Linked DNA regions of Homo sapiens: region 2 is linked to region 1. Evidence: promoter capture Hi-C in 16 types of primary human blood cells and fetal thymus (Javierre and others, 2016). All regions are on one chromosome and are shown on one strand. Each heading gives the region's core, a stretch centred on a gene start or on the middle of the fragment in contact. The rest is flanking DNA. Distances are from core to core; before and after follow the strand shown. Region 1 overlaps LOC124904486 (a long non-coding RNA gene). Region 2 holds the start of CYB5R1 (cytochrome b5 reductase 1).

Region 1 (3,786 bases), core at 1,270-3,769:
CACGCACCATCTTGCCCGGCAACTTATCTTTTTTGTAGAGATGATGGGGGTGGGGGGTGGTTCTCAATATGTTGCCCAGGCTGGTCTCAAACTCCTGGGCTCAAGCAATCCTCCCACCTTGGCCTTCCAAAATGCTGGGATTATAGGGGTGAACTACTGCACCTGGCTGATACCTTTTATTTTTAAAATCTCTTAACTTCCTTTTTTTTTTTTTTAGATGGAGTCTCGCTCTGTCGCCCAGGCTGGAGTGCAGTGGCATGCTTTCGGCTCACTGCAACCTCCGCATCCCAGGTTCAAGTGATTCTCCTGTCTCAGCCTTCCAAGTAGCTGGGATTACAGGCGTACGCTGCCACGCCTGGCTAATTTTTTTTTAATTTTTTAGTATTTATTGATCATTCTTGGGTGTTTCTCGGAGAGGGGGATTTGGCAGGGACATAGGACAATAGTGGAGAGAAGGTCAGCAGATAAACATGTGAACAAAGGTCTCTGGTTTTCCTAGGCAGAGGACCCTGCGGCCTTCCGCAGTGTTTGTGTCCCTGGGTGCTTGAGATTAGGGAGTGGTGATGACTCTTAACCAGCATGCTGCCTTCAAGCATCTGTTTAACAAAGCACATCTTGCACCGCCCTTAATCCATTTAACCCTGAGTTGACACACCACATGTTTCAGAGAGCACCGGGTTGGGGGTAAGGTTATAGATTAACAGCATCCCAAGGCAGAAGAATTTTTCTTAGTACAGAACAAAATGGAGTCTCCTATGTCTACTTCTTTCTACACAGACACAGTAACAATCTGATCTCTCTTTTTCCCCACATTTCCCCCTTTTCTATTCGACAAAACCGCCATCGTCATCATGGCCCATTCTCAATGAGCTGTTGGGTACACCTCCCAGACGGGGTGGCAGCTGAGCAGAGGGGCTCCTCACTTCCCAGACGTGGCGGCCCGGCAGAGGGGCCCCCCACCCCCCAGACGGGGCGGCCGGGCAGAGGAGCCCCCCACCTCCCAGATGGGGCGGCTGCCGGGCGGGGGCGCCCCCCCATCTCCCAGAAGGGGCGGCTGGCCCGGGTAATTTTTTGTATTTTAGTAGAGACGGGGTTTCACCGTGTGGCGTAGGCTGGTCTCGAACTGGTGAGCTGAGGCCATCTGCCCGCCTTGGCCTCCCAAAGTGCTGGGATTACAGGCGTGAGCCACCGCGCCCGGCCTAAATGTCTTAACATCAAGAATAAGGCCATATCGATCAATAAGATACATGCATACTATTTTGCCACCTCTCACTTTTTATTAATAGTATACTCTTTCTTTGCTACCTCCCAGTTTTTGTCAAAGTAAATTGTGATACAAAAACCCCAATTTATAATCATGAAATATTTATTATATTTAATTTTAATAATAATGATTAGTTTCATATTATATTAATTATAATTATTTCGTTCATTTAGTTTTATTGATTTGATTGTTCTTTGCCTTTTCTTTTACATTTTTTCTGTTGAATTATTTATTTTGATTCGTTTCTTAGCTGGCAGGACTATGTCCTCAAGTACTATTTTTCAAAAAGGGCTTATAGAAGAGCTCTCCCATCCTCAGTGGAGTTGGCTAACATCCTGTACCAGTTACCAGTTTATTACTCTCTGGCTCCAAACGTTTCTCCCTTGCCAGCGGGCACAGTGTTAAACTGTGTCAGTAGAGGGCGCTAGAGGACAGAGAGAAGAAGAGACTTCTCTTGCGGTTTCTTTAAGCTTTCCTTCCTACTTGCTTTCGGGACTCTGAACCCCCGGGGTTCTCAGCTCAGTTTCAGGGCACTTCCGCAGGCATCTTCACGGCTAGTTCTGTGGGTGTCCCACTTAGTTTCCCAGTGGCGAGTTCAGCCGCACCGTCTTGGGTGGATTCCTGGTGGAGCCGACTTGACCCAGCCAGTTTCCTGCGAAGTCCCGCATGCGCACTTCCCCGGGGGCAGCTTCCCAGCAAGTTCTGCGTGAGTCCTAGGTGGCTTTGCCATGAGTTCAGCGCATCCCCCAACAGCAACTTCCGGAGGAATTTTGTGGGCACCCCAGCAGGGGGCTTCCAGCCCCTGAGCCGTGGCCTGCCGTTCTCTTCCCCACAATGTTCGCTCTCTTGACTGTGGCCCGGTTCTGTCCAGGGACAACCCAGAGAACTCTTCTGCCCTCAATGGGCTGCAACGCACTTTCTCCAGCAAGGACTGAACCCCAGTCTCGGAGAGCTAGGCTTCTTCACGTTCGTTCTTTCTTTTTGGGTTCTCCCCCACCCCTGCGAGATCATCTAACATTCCTCTTTATTCCCACTGCACCATTAATTTCTATCCTGACTGATTCACAACCCCGAGTTCCGAAGCAAGGGCAAGCTGTGGGGCGCTTCTTGCCGTCTCTACTCAAAACGGAAAAAGCTGGCCAGGCGCGGTGGCTCACGTCTGTAATCCCAGCACTTTGGGAGACTGAGACAGGAGGATCGCTTGAGCCCAGGAGTTCAAGATCAGTCTGGACAACGTAAGGAGACCCTGTCTCTTCAAATATATATATATATATATATATATATATATATACACACACACACACACACATATACATATGTGTATATATACATATATATGTGTGTATATATATACACATATATGTGTGTGTATATATGTATATATGTATATAATTATATATGTATATATGTGTATATATACGTATATAATTATATATACACACATATATGTGTATATATGTAAAATTAGCCAGGCATGGTGGTACGTACCTATGGTCTCAGCTACTCAGGAGGCTGAGGCAGGAGGATCGCCTGAGCCCTGGGGTGTTGAGGCTGTGGTGAGCTGTGATGGTGCCACTGCACTCCAGCCTGGGGCAGGGACTGAGACCCCATCTCAAAAAATAAAAATAAAAAGAATGGAAAGAACCAATGAAATCTTGATGCTATTAACACCTCTGAATATTTCACTGGTTTCTAGAATCCACACAAAACAGGAATCCTACAGAATGATGGCTTGCAGAGGACATTGTAACAGGGCAGTCAAACCAGTTGGAGAAGTGTGCTCTGTCCTATAAAAACGTGCTCCTTCCTGACGTCTACCCCATGTTGGTGGGCCCATGATCTCCTCCTAGACCTCTCAGCTGAAATCAGTCCTGTCCCTGTGTTTGGTGTCCTTCATACCCTCTCGTGGCTGCCTCCCTGCCACGGCCCTGGCTCAGGCCCTGGTCACCTTGCCTAGGGTAGTGGCTTCCCTGGGAATGCCATCTCCACTCAATACTCCTTCTGGTGCTAGAGTGCCCTGCTCAAGGCCTCACCTCCCACGAAGCTTCCTGAACAGCTTAACTCACTGTTTCTTCCTGTTCTGCCCTCTCCTATTATCTGTGCAAATCTGAAGGCACTTTCTGCTCTGTCATGTACCTGATCTTTCCTGCCAGCCTAGACTGCTTTGATGAAAACTGCATCAGATAGCAGAGGAAACACTTATTTGTATGGAAGTGGCGTCCTCTGCTGGTAGAAGTATGTAATGACTGGAACTTTTCCCTAGCTGTGTAAAGGACCCTCACTGCCCAAAGCTGAGACAACCAGTGATACCCAAGGAAACCCAGCTGCCCTTCTCTCTGCCCACCCCAGTCCCTAAGCATGTAAAATTCAATCCACTGACTCACTCACCAGATTTCCACACCTCACTATTACACTAAGATGTTCCTGATGCTCCAGTCTCATGGATAATGGCAATCTTTAACATTAATTGGATATGCACTGTATATGCCAGGCACTGGGCTAATCTCTTCATCTGTATTATA
Region 2 (3,962 bases), core at 1,138-3,637, 300 kb before region 1:
GGACAATGGGGCCAGGGCTATCTGTGAGTCAGTTCAGCGCCACACAATGTATCAGCTGCTTCTGGCAAAGTGTCACTCCCTGGTGAAGGAGACAGGCACAGAGCCAGGTGTGAATCTATTTTCCCAAGTGGCACACAGCAGCTCCAGGGACTTGCTAATGCACCCAGCTGTTCCCATGGGAAGGGCTGAAAGCTATCTCTGGCTCACTCCACAGCTCACCCAGGGGGGCAAATTTTTGAAGGTGGGGAAGAGGGGCACATGTTTGCTTTAGTAATCTCCACAGCTGCCATGGCTAGGGAATTCAAGTGGAGGAGGAACTGCTTCCTGTGGCAAATGGGGCTGAGAAACATGCCTTTCTATTGTATCAGCGCTATGTTTAGAAGGAAGGGCGGCCCTGGCCCTTACGTGCATACACATGTGTACACACAGCCATACTGTGCCAAGAGGACTATGGGAACTGATAAAGTGGGAGACAGGCTCAAGGAGAAGACAGGTCATTACCTTTTCCAGTGTAAGTGAGCAACCCGCTTGGCCCCCGAAACTCCACCACATCCCCAACCTTCAGGCTATCCAGGTACTGAGACATCTTCCCTCCCTCAGGAAATTTGGGGTGCACACCCTTCAGGTAGACCTTACAAGACAGAGAGAAAAATACCTTATTTGGAATGTCACTGGTTTCTGAGCCCCATGTTGACTAAACCTCCCTGAGGCTGGGGCAGGGATCAGATATGTGCTATCTTTTCCCCGTCTACATACTTTCTTTCTTTCTTTTTTTTTTTTGAGTCAGAGTTTTGCTCTTGCTGCCCAGGCTTGAGTGCAGTGGCGCAATCTTGGCTCACTGCAACCTCCGCCTCCTGGGTTCAAGTGAGTCTCCTGCCTCAGTCTCCTGAGTAGCTCATACTTTCTTCACATCCACAGAGTACATACCATTTCCTGCTGTCAGGCAAATCTTAGAAATTTCTACAAATCCCAGAAAGAATGGGTAAGCAGCCCCTGGGTCCCTTCCTAGCCCCTTACCTTGATGACAAGATCCACATAGCCTTGATCCTCATCACTGGTGACAGGAGTGTATGGCCTGATGACCAGGCTGCCATCAATTCGGGTGGAGAGGTAGATATGTTTGCCTGGGGACCGTGCAGAGAGCTACATAAGGGTTGTCTGTGATGTGCTGCATCCCTCAAAATACTCAAAGAGATTTGAGAGAACAAGATGTCTTGCTTCCTGCTGTGGTCCCAAGGAGCTACAAGGCAGGGAAGATTTGCCCCATTGAGCCCTCAGTTGGATCTCTTATAAGCGCCCAGTTGAGGAAACACTTATTTCCAGCGTTTCCTGCCAGTTACTGCCAGGACCTTGACAGATGAGCCAAAAGGGTCTGGGCAATGGGAAAAAGTTAGTAGTGCTTGCTCAGAGGGAGTAATTAGCAAATCCTGCAGGGAAGAGGCAAGACTGTTGAGTGTTAAAGCTGGATGGGGGTCATGGAAGCCACACTCTAGAGGGGCCCAGTGGCACCTCACAGCTTGGAGGATGCAGAGCCAAGTGGGGGAAGGGGAATGGTGTGTGGAGCAAACCGGTTGAAGCAGCGTGTTTCATGAGATCCCAGGAGGGGAGTCACCTTCTGAGGATACCAGGGAAAGGAGCCCATTCCACACTTTCCTTACCCACAGGCAGCCCCAGAGTGTGGTGGGCGGTGGGCAGGGCAAAGCGGAACCTCTTGGTGTTGTGGCTCACAGTCTGGAGGGTGGAGGACACAAGTGTTTCACCAAGCGCGCCTGGCGCTGCCACGTCCCTTGGACATCCCAACCACCGTGGGTGCTGTACCCTCCATGCCAGGAGCACTCTGGTCCCCTCCTTCACCCTGGCCCTTTCTTCCCCAACTTACCGTCTTGTCTAGCAGTCGTAGCAGGTACTTTTCATTGGGGTCCAGGAGAGTGACCTGAGGCCGGCGGGACCTCCGAACCAAGTAGGAGCCCACAGCCAGGCCGAGCAGAGTGACCAGCCCCACCCCCAGGGAGGCCAGCAGGACGGGGCTCTGTGGGTAGAGGAGGCAGCGTGACCGCCAGGCTGGGTAAGAGCCCGGGGCTTGGGTGGTGACCGTCCCAGGGGTGGCGATCCCGAGCTCCAGCGCGGAGGCATGCCAAGGGCAGAGGGGTAACCTGGCGGAGTCCCGAGCCCGGATGTGCGGGATCGGGACCCCAGCATCCACGGTGGGCCCAGAGCCCTGCGGGGCGGGGTCGGCAGCGACAGCCCCTGGTCCGGAGCTGAGTGGCCAGAACCAGATGGGGAGGGGTCCCCCAGTGGAGGATACTGAATGAGGGTCTTACCGTCTGGATCCCCATGACGGAGCGCCTTTTCCTCCACCACCTGACAAGCCGACAGATCCCACAATGCGCCGCGGGGCGGGTCGGAGGGCGGGGCAGGCCGGGGGCGGGGCCGGGCAGGAGGCAGGACCTCGCGGCTGGGGGGGCAGGAGGCGGGGCCTGGCGGGGGGGGGGGGGGGTGTCTGTCGGGGGCGGGGCCTAGCAGGAGGTGGCGGCGGCGGGGCCTTTTGGGGGCGGGGTCCGGCAGAGGCGGGGCTGGGCCCCTCTGCGCGCCACCCTTTCCCTCCGCTACTCGGTGGCTCAGGGTCTCCGGTGCTTATTCAATACTTTTTTTTTTTTTTTTGAGTCGGAGCCTCGCTCTGTCGCCCAGGCTGGAGTGCAGTGGCGCGATCTCGGTTACTGCAACCTCCGCCTCCCAGTTTCAAGTGGTTCTCCTGGCTCCGCCTCCCGAGTATCTGGGACTACTGGCGTGCGCCACCACGCCCGGCTAATTTTTTTTTTGTATTTTTAGTACAGACTGGGTTTCACCGTGTTGGTCAGGGTGGTCTCGAGCTCCAGGGCTCAAATAATCTACCCGCTTCGGCCTCCCAACGTGTTGGGATTACAGGCGTGAGCCATCGCGCCCGGCCCCAAGATCTTTTAAGACCGCAGCTCCAGCCTCTCCTCCCAGCGAGGTGGTCCCTGCCACTTCGACCCGCTTATATCCGAACTGGATGGGAGTTCTGCCTAAGGTAGAACCACGCTAAATTGGGGGATTGGAAATCTCTTGAGTCTGCGGGTGCTGAGCGGAGAGTGTAACGATGAACCAGAGACAGGCTCAAAGTAGAGCAGAAGGGCCTGAAGTTAATCATTGTGCAGTCACCTTAGTTTTTCAACCGGCTGAATTGCAGCAAGAGAATGGAACAGCCCAGAGGAGTCTCTTACAGGAGTGAACAGTGGCATGGCAACTTCATTTCCTTTTGACAAAAGACTGATTTTGTTTACAGCGCCAAGCCGTCAGCCTATCAGGATGATTCAGGAGCTTCCTTTGGTTTCAAAGACCAAGCTTCACATCCTGATTTGGGTTCTTGTGCCCTTAGGGTCAAAGAAGTGGGCTTTGGAGGCAGAGTGTACAGAATAAGAATCTTGCCTCTAGCACTTATTGGCTCTGTGACCTTAGATAGCTTACTCAACCTGAGTTTCTTCATCTACAGATGGATATAAGATGGATATCTACAGATGGATATATATTATTATCTACAGATAGATTGTATCTAGTTCATAGCTTTGGTGTGAGGCTTCAGTGAGATATGTTAACGTGCTTAGTGTAGTGCCTGTCATAAAGCAAAATATTCAACAGTTGGCAGCTACTATTATAACTTAAAAGACAGCACAGAGGGTCAGCTATGGTTTTAGGAATGAGCTCTGCCTGGGGCACAAGCATGGGACAGGAGGAGGCAGGAAAAAACATCAGGAGCCGCTGGAGCTACAGATTTCCCAAGATGACCATTCTTTCTCATACATGAGTTTCTCAACTAGAATGACATTTGCTCTTTGATATACCGTGATGGATGAGATCTCTGCAGATGTCAGTGTCAACATCTTAAACTAATACCATCAGGGCAGCAGGGACATTAGAGCCCCCAGTTTTCAGTTGTATTTGGT

What was found. The method cuts DNA at HindIII sites, captures the fragments that hold promoters and counts their contacts. A CHiCAGO score of 5 or more calls a contact.
Region 2: the fragment with the promoter of CYB5R1 here is called in contact with a fragment that was not itself captured in region 1 in 1 of 17 cell types (fetal thymus); the score reaches 5.4 in fetal thymus.

The regions. Positions count from the first base shown.
Region 1 is chr1:203,265,766-203,269,551 of GRCh38, forward strand. LOC124904486 (a long non-coding RNA gene) reads right to left here. Exons shown (of 2, transcript XR_007066798.1): 2 at 1,349-3,786. Among named protein-coding and RNA genes, the nearest start is that of LINC01353, 19 kb to the right of the region's middle. The HindIII fragment of the contact is 1,574 bases long and covers 1,733-3,306 here.
Region 2 is chr1:202,964,870-202,968,831 of GRCh38, forward strand. It overlaps CYB5R1 (cytochrome b5 reductase 1), which reads right to left and starts at 2,388. Exons shown (of 9, transcript NM_016243.3): 1 at 2,322-2,388; 2 at 1,880-2,029; 3 at 1,659-1,731; 4 at 1,018-1,124; 5 at 502-631. The coding sequence starts at 2,336. RefSeq lists silencers at 2,296-2,345, 2,416-2,575, 3,192-3,486. The HindIII fragment of the contact is 3,400 bases long and covers 1-3,361 here.